Linked DNA regions of Homo sapiens: region 2 is linked to region 1. The links are contacts of gene promoters, found by promoter capture Hi-C in blood cells and fetal thymus (Javierre and others, 2016). All regions are on one chromosome and are shown on one strand. The core of a region is centred on a gene start or on the middle of the fragment in contact, and the rest is flanking DNA. Distances in the headings are between cores, read along the strand shown.

Region 1 (6,297 bases), core at 3,798-6,297:
GGTGAAACCTGTCTCTACTTAAAAAAAAAAAAAATACAAAAATTAGCCGGGCATGGTGGCGGGCCCCTGTAAACTCAGCTACTTGGTATGCTGAGGCGGACAATTGCTTGAACCCAGGAGGCAGAGGTTGCAGTGAGCCTTGATCACGCCACTGCACTCCAGCCTGGTGACAGAGTGAGACTCTGCACTCCAGCCTGGTGACAGAGCGAGACTCCATCTTTACAAAAAAGAAAAAAAAAAAAGAAAGAATAATATAACTACTGTTTTCTACCTTCCAGAAGGACTTTCACTTAGAAGACTAGAAGGGACCTCAGCTGGACAGATGAACAGGCAGAGAGGTGAAGTGATTTACTCTGTGTCGCACTGCTAGTTAAGTTTAGACCTGAGATTGAATCCCAAGTCTCTTGGCTCTGAGTTCACAGCCATTTTTAGAATGCTGCTACCCAAAATGTGGTCAGCACTGACATCATCTTGAGCTTCTTAGAAATGCAGACTCTCAGATCCCACCCTAGACCTAATGAATCAGGTTCCGCATTTTAGCAAGATTCCCAGGTAAATCTTGTACACATTCAGGGTTGAGAATCACAGGCTTTCAACATCACGTGGGCTCTGAAAAGCCTCCAATGAGGTTGCATAGGAATTGAATGGGTGAATATCTCAAGCAGTTCGGCCTCATCATTCTCTCTTGAGACCGACGGATTCTGATCTAGACTGATGAGACGCCTAAAGATGCAGGCTTAGCACTATCATCATCAATCTTTGTTGGTCTGGGGCATCCTCTGGATGCTGAGCTGAGTGTTCCAATAATGTGCTATGCAGCTTTCTCTTCTAAGGACAGAGGCAGTACAGCAGATCAGTTAAGCACTTGGACTCTAGACAGCCTGCCTGGCCTCAACTCCTGTCTCCACCACTTACTTAACAAATGTAAAGTTTGTGCACTTGAATGACCTGCTCATCGTCTCTGTGCCTCAGTTTCCATATTTGTAAAATGGGGTTGAGACTAACAGTACCCACTTCACAGGTGAGGATTAAATAAGTTAATATATGGAAAGCACATAGATCAGTGTCTGCCACTTAGCAAAAGCAATGCAAATGTTAGTTATTTATCATTTTTCAGGGAATCCCTAGGCCTCCTCTAAGTGGAATCAAAATCCTAAATGAACTCAGTCTTTAGAATTTCTCCAGATTCTGTATCTGTAAGGCTCAGAGGGGTAATCCTGATTATGATTCTAGGTGGCTAGAGTATCCACTGGTTTGGAGCTATACTCTGGCCATCAAAACTACACTGGCATTGGGAGGAAGACCAGGGAGGAAGAGATGTCCTTTTGAAAAGCATTGGTTCCCTGGCATGTGATGCTACATTGTCTGTTGCTAATATTTTTTCTAAGTAATCAAAGAACTTTAAAAAATGGACATTGGTATAATTACATTAAGTTTTGAAACCTTAAACCCAGATTACTACATGGCCATACTGCTTTTTTCTATTTTTTTAAGGCTTTCTTCAAGCCAAATGAATTTTAATTCTGATCATCTCTTGGAACCCTAAAGTCTGTGGGCTTACTTGGGAATTTACAAATAAAAATTATGTTTTAAAAGCAATATATTAAAGTTACAAATTGTGATTTGGCCTTACTGAAGGACATTGAAGCAGAATTCATTCTCTTACTGAATGAGTATCTGTGGATTTTGCAATACAGCCTTTCAAATTTTCTATTTCAGCCAGCAATGAAATCTTAAAGTTCAAAAATCTCTTAAAGTTTATTTTATCTATATCCCCATTGAATGCTTGACTCACTTTCATAACATCTTTACTGATTTTAAAATATGCTAGATTCTCACAACTTGAGAAAAATGGAGAAAAAAAAGGATAACTTAGTAAATCCAAACTCATTGTTTAAAAGATTTCTAATTTCAAATATAAGGTATGTTATAAACTAAGAGACAGCATAAATGAATACTAAAGTGGAAATTACCCAACACAAAATTTACCATCTTGCAATAATCCAACTATACAGGATATATCACAAACATTATAAGAGCTAATGGTAGAGCCTAATGGCAGGAACACATATAAAAGATTATTTCCAGTGAACTCTTGCTTTGAAATCTGCTCCTTCTATGATGATTCTCTTGTATTGAACATGGCTTTAGTAATTCAAAAATGAATCTATTCCTAATGTTTTATTTAATAAGAGAAGGTTTATGAGATCATCTGTTGGTCTGAATTAGCGGAGTAAGAGTTATAGAACTGTACCACTAAAAAGAGAAAGTGCAAGTTATCTTCGTTCCAATAAGGAATTGAAATCTTAGAGAGGCAAAATGGCATTACAGTTTCAGGGTCTAAGGCAGTGTCTGAAGGATGACATCAGAAATAACAGGAAGCTCTAGGTCAGTGCCTGACTGCCCTAGAAAAGCCTAGGCTGGGTCCCTTGACAACTGGGCCTAGTAGCTGTCAGCAGCATATTACAGTGACTAAATCAAGTATGACACCACTCAGCCCTGGCTGGCAATCAGGAGACACATTTTTTACGACAGCAGACAAACCATGTTTTACTTTGATTCAGTTCAGCGGTGGTGCCTGCTGTCAAGGTCCTCCTTATGGACTAGGAGATATTTGGTACTATGGGAAAAGGTTAGACCAAATGGCTACCTCTTCAATCCTCACTGACCACTGCGTGTGATTACTTACCGATTTTCCTCTTTAGCCTTAAAGAAATTCCAAGGCAAGAGTAGTGACATATTTGTCATAGAGAGCCAAAGAAACAAAATGTCTAAAAGCATAAGCTCTATCTATGGTCACAGTCTTTGGCTCTACCAGTTAATAGCTGGGTGATTTTATTTAAGTTATGTAATCTCTGTATGCCTATTTTCTTAACTGTAAGATCCAGATAATTATACTATTGTCACAGCAGATTGTCATAACAATCAAGTGAGAAAATACACTGAGAGAGTAAAAATGAATACTATTAGTAACTGGACTGCAGTGTTTATAGCAGAACATCAATACAATATTTCTTTTTTTTTTTTTTGAGACGGAGTCTTGCTCTGTCACCCAGGCTGGAGTGCAGTGGCTCAATCTCGCTCACTGCAAGCTGCGCCTCCCAGGTTCACACCATTCTCCTGCCTCAGCCTCCTGAGTAGCTGGGACTACAGGCACCCGCCACTACGCCCGGCTAATTTTTTTTTGTATTTTTAGTAGAGAAGGGGTTTCACCATGTCAGCCAGGATGGTCTCAATCTCCTGACCTCGTGATCCACCCGCCTTGGCATCCCAAAGTGCTGAGCCACCACGCCCAGCCCATCATTACAATATTTCTTACAGACCGTACTGTAGGCCACACCACTGCAGCAAAATGACTAACAGTTCCTTATTCTGAGTGATTCCTGCTTTCTTATGAACATCATGCCCACTTCCTCTCTGTTCTTCCTGTCTCTAGAACAAAGACTATCAAGATATCCAATTGCTGAACTGTCCTTTCTTCTTGACAGCACCCATTCTAAAACAAGTTCCTGCTTCTCTGATGCCACTTTAAAATCACTCAGCCTTAAGTCCAAATTTCATTTCAAGCCCCTCCCAGGTCACTCTTTTGGAAACATCCTCAGACATATGCTGTCTTTTGCTGCATCAAGCTAATTAAACTTGACTTTGTATGAGTTCACGTTTTCTTCTAGTAGCCTTGGCTTATGGGCTTCCACAATGCTGAGCACATACTCTAGCACACTATATGGATAAGAAATGTTAGTTATTGGCAGTAGTACAGAAATCTTCTTATTCTCAACTTCTTGCATGTAGCACACCTCAAAACATGTTTGTTCAATGAAGAGCCATCCTTAAGTATCTGGGAAGCCAGGCAGCATGGCTAGAATGAAGAGATGTAGTTTTTCCTTCAAGGTCCAAAGTATTATTGAAAAGTGTCTAAGGTAACTGCAACAGCAATGAGTGGAATGAATGGACAAGCAAAGCAAAGATTTTTTAGCCCACTAAAGTCCAAGTAATGGCCAGGAATTGACCATTGTCTGGACCTGTTAAACCAAGATAGCCAGATCTCTAGTAAAAAGAGAAGGTTGAAATAGCTACACTTTAAAGTTCTTATTTCCAAATTTCTACAAACAGTAATCTGACAAATAAGGGAATTAGTAGAAGAATAAATGTCCTAGTCACATACATGGTTATTAGGCTAGATCTGGAACCCAAGACAGGGGATTTTTTGTGCAGGTGTATTAGCTATCTATTATTGCATAACAAATTACCCTAAAGCTTAATGACTCAAAAAAACGGTAATCATTTATTTTCTCTGGCAATTTCTCCTAGTCAGTAATTCATGAGCGGCCTGGCTGGGAGATTCAGGCTTAACGTCTCCATGAGTTGCAGCCGAGGACTGGTGGATCCACTTCCTAGGTGGCTCAGTCATGACTGGCTAGTTGATTCCTCTTTATATGTTCCTCCCTGCAGAGCTGTTTGAGTGTCTGCAGGAAATGAAGGCTAGCTTTCTCCACAGGGAGCAATCCAAGAGACAAAAACTGAAGTAACAATATGTTTTATGATCCAGCCCTAGAAGGCATACATCATTTCTATGGGTGTAGTCTATTGATAACACATGCCAACCCTGTTTCAGTGCCAACTCTGCTCCTCTGCCAGATGTGTTGTTTTGGACCAGCACCTAAATTCTGAGTCAGTTTCCTCATTTATAATAGAAAAATAAATACTTCCTTTCAGGACCGTTTTTTATGATTAACAAATATAGGATTATGAAGCGCTGCTTAGCATAATGCATTGCCTCACAACGGGCACTATTTAGAAGTGTCTTCATTTTCCTTAGCGTCCTCAGGAAGTCTGTCCTTATTCTTCTAAAGTTTAAACTCTGAACATCCCTTTTATTTTACCCCTGGAGAGGCGAGTCAGTCCCTTCCCACCCCTACCTACTCCAACTCACATCCAAAGTAGGACAACGGTGGAAGCAGAACTATAGTTTCCGGGGAGCGACTCGAGTGCCCGGAGTTCATTGTAAAACGCACCGGAAGTGGGTCCGGCGGCTTTCTTTCCGTCGCAGAGAGCATCGGCCGGCGACCGTTCCGGCGGCCATTGCGAAAACTTCCCCACGGCTACTGCGTCCACGTGGCGGTGGCGTGGGGACTCCCTGAAAGCAGAGCGGCAGGGCGCCCGGAAGTCGTGAGTCGAGTCTTCCCGGGCTAATCCATGCCGGGTTGGAGGCTGCTGACGCAGGTCGGCGCCCAGGTGCTGGGTCGACTCGGGGACGGCCTGGGTGCTGCCCTGGGCCCGGGGAACAGGTAGGAAGGTGTGAGGGTGTCCTACCTGCACAGTTGCGTCCTGAAGCAGTGGAATGGCCTGGTGCAGTTGGGCCTCCCCTGGGTGGAGGAGGAAGGGGCTCTGTTGAGACGTGGGACACAGAAGAATAAGGGCCGTTAACCTAAGGAAGCACGTTCTAAGGGGATTGAAGTGGTGATTTTTAAAAAACGCTTATGAGCCAGCCACTAGCAGCGAACGCTATTAACAGCAATCATATCTTACAATTAGTGAGCGTTTGCCAGGTACTAAGCGCTCTGCTAAGTGTATTAGGTGCCTTATGTAGCCTCACGGGAGCAAACTGCTATCATAAGGTTTACAGATAAAACTGAAGGTTAGGGAGGTGAGTTAATTTGCCCAAAGTCACTCAACTAATAAGTGGAAAATTAGGAATCTAGCCTGAATTTATCTGACTACAAAAGGAGAGTAGACTGCAGAAAGCTTTACTTCTGTTCTGACCCTCCATGCAAGAATTACACCCCTTCTTCCTGACCTCCGCCCACTAAGGTCTTTCTTGGTATGTTCACCTGTTCAGAGGTCATGCCTTTTGTGGATCTTTTAACTTTGCACACCCAGTTTCTTCACTTCTCTGAACCTAGGCCATGTCATTGCAGGGAGGAGGTGAGCTTGTTAGACAAAGATCAACATGCCACCTTCTGCCACCTCCACTGAATGTAAAACTATTAAGGTACACTTCCAAATGGGTTAGTGGCTTTTCATGTCTATAGGTAGGACTGTTTTTTGGGGAATATGTTTATCTGCGAGGAGAAGATGAATTTTTTTCTCCAGGGTAACGACTAACAGTTTAAATGTGAGCCTTATCCGAAGGAATGTGGGGAGTGAGGAAAAGGTTGGAGACCTGAAAAAAAGGTATACAGAATCCAAGCCCTTTCCCAAGGCCCTGACTACACTTTCCAATTTGTGACTTCCCTTTTCTATATTAAGTGGAGGAAGTTTTTAAATTGTGGTTTGGTTTTATTTATTTTTTCTTTT
Region 2 (5,936 bases), core at 1,289-3,788, 230 kb after region 1:
GAAATAGGAACACTTTTACACTGTTGGTGGGACTGTAAACTAGTTCAACCATTGTGGAAGTCAGTGTAGCGATTCCTCAGGGATCTAGAACTAGGAATACCATTTGACCCAGCCATCCCACTACTGGGTATATACCCAAAGGACTATAAATCATGCTGCTATAAAGACACATGCACACGTATGTTTATTGTGGCACTACTCACAATAGCAAAGACTTGGAACCAACCCAAATGTCCAACAATGATAGACTGGATTAAGAAAATGTGGCACATATACACCATGGAATACTATGCAGCCATAAAAAATGATGAGTTCATGTCCTTTGTAGGGACATGGATGAAACTGGAAATCATCATTCTCAGTAAACTATCGCAAGAACAAAAAACCAAACACCGCATATTCTCACTCATAGGTGGGAATTGAACAATGAGATCACATGGACACAGGAAGGGGAATATCACACTCTGGGGACTGTTGTGGGGTGGGGGGAGGGGGGAGGGATAGCATTGGGAGATATACCTAATGCTAGACGATGAGTTAGTGGGTGCAGCGCACCAGCATGGCACATGTATACATATGTAACTAACCTGCACAATGTGCACATGTACCCTAAAACTTAAAGTATAATAATAATAAAAAAAAAAGACCACTCTGGTACAGGTAGGGCTAGAAAACAATAAGTATATAAACATAGTAACAGCTTTAGGCTTGGAAATAATTTTCAGCATTTTTTTCTCCTTTGCTTTCAAACATTAGCATGGATGAGAATGTGCTGTGCTGCAAGAATACTATAAGTGCAAATCAACTGAAAAATAATTCTTGCCAAACTTCCCTAATTATTCGACCAGCACCAATACAGAAAGTGAATTTTAGAGAGAAGTTTCTAAGTTGGAACAGCTTAGTCCCAGGTATTTTGTCACGGCAGCACAAATGGACTAAGACAGTATCACATGACTGGGTCACACACTTGGTCAATATGCTTTAACACTGCACCTTCCTAGGGGGCAGGCAACATGCTACTTACTCCCTCATGCGTTTCATCTTGGTCCTGGCCATCACACTGTTGAAAATTGGTGGTCCTGGGGACATGTCTTCAGCCATGGTGGTGATGGTCTTTGTGTCTGAAAATCAATGCACAGCCCTTATTGACTTCATCAGCAATCCTGCAACTTCAAGGCGATGTTCAAGGGCAATCAGAAAACAGAAGCTAATCCACCTTTGCCACATGGTAATGCTACATTAATTAGAGATGAATTCAATTATAACACGCACATTAAGAAGATTTATTCCAAATGACAAGATTATTTACAGTTTTAATATGCACAAGGTATTCCAGGAGAAAGCCTCTCTCACAAAGGATTGTTTAAACAAAACACCATTATTTAAAAGATGAGCTTTTTATCCTAGAAAACTCAGGGGGAAATGTATCTATAGAAAAGCAAGTGTTCCTGAGGACCCTTTGGCCATTCTCTTTCAGCAGGTGTGGATGTTTGACTAAGTGACTAGGAATTTTTCTAATAAGCTTAGTTTTCCTTTTATCTTAATCTTATACCTGAGCATTAGCTTTTTTTGCAATGGAAAGCAAAATGCTGACCAGAGGTCCTATCTGCAGCTTTAAACTTCAGCAGAATGGAGCAGAAGGCCAAAGTTGTGTTCAGAGGGTAAGAGTTGGTAATGAAAGTTGAGGTGTAATGAAATCTGCTGAGAGAGCTACAGTTTTTAATGAAACATCCTGAAGGCTCTTATAAAACATGTTGAAACTGAGGGAAAGAAATATTCCATCAACTGAAACAACACTACTTTCCATTAAAAAGCTAAAACTGGGTTGGGTGCAGTGGCTCATGCCTGTAATCCCGGCATTTTGGAAGGCTGAGGTGGGCGGATCACCTGAGGTCACGAGTTTGGGACCAGCCTGGCCAACATGGTGAAACCTCGTCTCTACTAAAAATATAAAAATTAGCTGGGTGTGGTGGCACTTGCCTGTAATCCCAGCTACTCTGGAGGCTGAGACAGGAGAATCACTTGAACTTGGGAGGCGGAGGTTGCAATGAGCTCAGATCGCACCACGGCACTCCAGCCTGGGTGAAAGAACAAGGCTCTGTCTCAAAAAAAAAAAAAAAAAAAAAAAAAAAAAAGAAGCTAAAACTGGCCCATTAGCAAGAGCTCAGGGCAATCCATAGAGCTGAATTTACAATTTGGCCCTATGCTGCTCTTTCCTCCCTGGAACTGGGAGCAGAGTACTCCCTGTGCACGTCCTTAGATCTCTTATAAGGTGCTTCACATCCCATCAGTAAAAAACTGTCCACTCCAATGATCATTTATAAATTATATCCATGTAGTTGCTATGTCAGAGAGAAGAGACTCATGTTATGAAATTCCCATTCTTTTCTCAACATATCTCATATAACATGTGCCTGCTTGACTTAGGGACCAAGTAAAGAAGCAAGGTGGAGTCCCCATTTTACATATTAGTAAAACTTTTTCTTCTTCTTTTTTTTGAGACGGAGTTTCGCTCTTGTTGCCCAGGCTGGAATGCAATGGCGTGATCTCGGCTCACCGCAACCTCTGCCTCCCGGGTTCAAGTGATTCTTCTGCCTCAGTCTCCTGAGTAGCTGGGATTACAGGCGTGCGCCACCATGCCTGGCTAATTTTGTATTTTTAGTAGAGACAGGTTATCTCCTGTTGGTCTCCTGTTGGTCAGGCTGGTCTTAAACTCCCGAGCTCAGGTGATCCGCCCACCTCGGCCTCCCAAACTGCTGGAATTACAGGCGTGAGCCACCACACCCGACCTTTTTATTTTTTTGAGATGGAGTTTTGCTCTTGTTGCCCAGGCTGGAGTGCAATAGTGAGATCTCGGCTCACTGCATCCTCCACCTCCTGGGTTCAAGCAATTCTCCTGCCTCAGCCTCCCAAGTAGCTGGGATTACAGGCTCCCGCCACCAAGCCCAGCTAATTTTTTTCTTTTTAGTAGATACAGGGTTTTGCCATGTTGGTCAGGCTAGTCTCGAACTCCTGACCTGAGGTGATCCGCCTGCCTCGGCCTGCCAAAGTGCTGGGATTACAGGCGTGAGCCACCCCGACTGGCTCTATTTTTTAAATTTTAAAAGTTAAATGCAAATTCTAATATGTCTCACATACATCCTCCTTTTGCACTACCTGTTGGGGCATGTATCCCACTTTGAACTTCTTGCTCCTATAGATATAATTGAGATGAATATTCTCCAGCTTAATTCTGTGCCAAAGTCTCTGATCTTTCCTTGGACTAGATCCCTAGTTATGGAAATACTGGATTAACAGGGACAAACCTTGTAAAGGGCATAATACAAATTAACAATGTGTTGCTCATAGTACATTCACCAGTTATGCCTTCATGATAAAGACACAAGTACCAGCAACTGATTGCTCCCATTTCTCTCACTCCTGGAGATTGCCCCTTCCACACCTGGAGAGAAAATTTGCCTCGGCCCTCACTGCAACTGGACAGCAGCTTTCTGTCAGCTCCAACCTTCCCACTAACTCTGGCCAGGACAGATACTTTTCCCCAGGAAGCTTGGGGAGTGGGCAAGAGGAAGGCATAGGGGTTTATTTCATATTCCTGTTGGTTGCTTTTTACAATAATCTTTCCTAGAACCTAAAAAGTTACTAAAACAACACCAACCATACCATGCTAAGTAACTCACATGCAAGCTCAAAAATCAGTTCCGCCAAGAATAAAAATAAGGTGCTCCTTTCCCATCTTTTCCAGAGCTGGCAAGTTTTGAAGACTTATGCAAATAAAGGTCAAAGCAATTTCCAGGAGAGCTGCAGTTTATTTTAAGCTGGCTACAGTTTCCCTCAATAAGGCACTCAGTCTGCTAGGAAAGATGCTAAGCCTTAAGCCCAAGGGTAGAAAACAGGGCAAGTATAATTTCGAGTAACAGGGTTGGCAAAGCTTGGTGCTCAGAGCAATTCCTTTTTCAGTGTTTCTTATTGGCCAACTTTCTTTCCCTCTGCCTCCCATCTTCCAACATGAATAGTAGTTGCTTTATGTCAAAGAAAAGGACAATTCATTTAACAATCATAATAAAAATAATTGGGGCAAGAACATAGATGTCATCCAATAGGTGACTGAATCCCAGAGTGTGTTTTAGACCACTGCTTCTCAAACTTTAATGTCATACAAATCATCCAGGGATCTTGTTAAAATGCAGATTCTTCTTTAGTAGGTTTGGGTAGGGCTTGGGATTCTACGTTTCCATATGTTCCCAGGTGATACCAATGCTGCTGGTCCTGCAACCACACTTTGAGTAGTAAGGCTCTAGACAGGCCAGCTACATAATTTGTGGGGCCCAGTGCTAAATGACAACGCAGAAATCCTTGTTCAAGAAACAAGAGAAAAGCTGTTTTTTGGGGGGTCTGTATTTGTCTGTGGACCTGTCATTGTGCTTTTTGTTGGGTATTTAATGTCATTCTCCCTCAGGAACTAGGGCAGATACTCTGCAGGGGAGTGTAGACACTTATAGGGACCTGGCAGTCTTACCTCACGGCAACCCTTCCTCACTATTACCTAGGATCCCATTGGGAATGGAAGATTGCAGTAGTTATGGGATGGGGATTAAGGGCTAGGTGGCAGAGGAACCTTCCCAGGTAGATGTCTTAAAGGCAAGACAGCACATGAGCAAGGCTTTAAGCCTTGAGCCTGTGTTCCACTGTGTTATCAGCTTTCACTCATAAAACACAAATTCAAAGATAAAATTTTATGAAACCCCATGTGTGGGCTCCTTCCTGAACCTAGGGCTCTGTGTAACTGCACTGGTCTCACGTCCATGAAGCCCTGGTTCTAGAGCTCTGCTTTCTTAAAGCTCTGCTTTCTGAAAAATAGCTGAATCCTTAATCCCCATGTTAATTTTCAAAAACTACTTTTGGATGGAATGGGCAAGATGGCCGAATAGGAACAGCTCCAGTCAGCAGCTGCCAGTGAGATCAACACAGAAGGCGGGTGATTTCTCCATTTCCAACTGAGGTACCAAGCTCATCTCATTGGGACTGGTTAGACAATGGGTGCAGCCCACAGAGGGTGAGCTGAAGCAGGGTGGGGCGTCGCCTAGCCAAGGGAAGCCATGAGGGACTGTGCCATGAGGAATGGTGCACTCTGGCCCAGATACTATGCTTTTCCCATGGTCTTTGCAACCCACAGACCAGGAGATTCCCTCGGGTGCCTATGCCACCAGGGCCCTGGGTTTCAAGCACAAAACTGGGTGGCCATTTGAGCAGACACTGAGCTAGCTGCAGGAGTTGTTTTTCATACTCCAGTGGCACCTGGAATGCCAGCGAGACAAAATCGTTCACTTCCCTGGAAAGGGGGCTGAAGCCAGGGAGCCAAGTGGTCTAGCTCAGCGGATCCCACCCCCACAGAGCCCAGAAAGCTAAGATCCACCAGCTTGAAATTTGCACTGCCAGCACAGCAGTCTGAAGTCAACCTGGGATGCTCAAGCTTGGTGGGGGGAGGGGCATCTGCCATTACTGAGGCTTGAGTAGGTGGTTTTCCCCTCATAGTGTAAACAAAGCTGCTGGGAAGTTTGAACTGGGCAGAGCCCACCGCAGCTTGGCAAAGCCTCTGTAGTCAGACTGTCTCTCTAGATTCCTCCTCTCTGGGCAGGGCATCACCGAAAAAAAGGCAGCAGCCCCAGTCAGGGGATTAAAGATAAAACCCCAATCTCCCTGGGACAGAGCCAATGGGGGAAGGGGAGGCTGTGGCACAGCTTCAGCAGACTTAAACGTCCCTGCCTGCTGGCTCTGAAGAGAGCAGTGGATCTCCTAACACAGTGTTCGAGCTCTGCTAAGGGACAGACTGCCTCCTTAAGTGGGTCCCTGACCCCCATGCCTCCTGACTGGGAGACACCTCCCAGCAGGGGTTGACAGACAAATACAGGAGAGTTTGGGCTGGCATCTGGTGG

The links. The method cuts DNA at HindIII sites, captures the fragments that hold promoters and counts their contacts. A CHiCAGO score of 5 or more calls a contact.
Region 2: a contact is called between a fragment that was not itself captured here and the fragment with the promoter of MRPL3 in region 1, in 1 of 17 cell types (neutrophils). The highest score is 7.3, in neutrophils.

The regions. Positions count from the first base shown.
Region 1 is chr3:131,501,721-131,508,017 of GRCh38, reverse strand. It overlaps MRPL3 (mitochondrial ribosomal protein L3), which reads left to right and starts at 5,047. Exons shown (of 10, transcript NM_007208.4): 1 at 5,047-5,288. The coding sequence starts at 5,197. LOC105374114 (a long non-coding RNA gene) reads right to left here and starts at 5,419. Exons shown (of 3, transcript NR_189111.1): 1 at 5,314-5,419. RefSeq lists enhancers at 5,149-5,218, 4,725-5,411. The HindIII fragment of the contact is 1,488 bases long and covers 4,260-5,747 here.
Region 2 is chr3:131,268,663-131,274,598 of GRCh38, reverse strand. It overlaps NEK11 (NIMA related kinase 11), which reads right to left. Exons shown (of 18, transcript NM_024800.5): 17 at 1,025-1,121. Among named protein-coding and RNA genes, the nearest start is that of NUDT16-DT, 110 kb to the left of the region's middle. The HindIII fragment of the contact is 2,027 bases long and covers 1,525-3,551 here.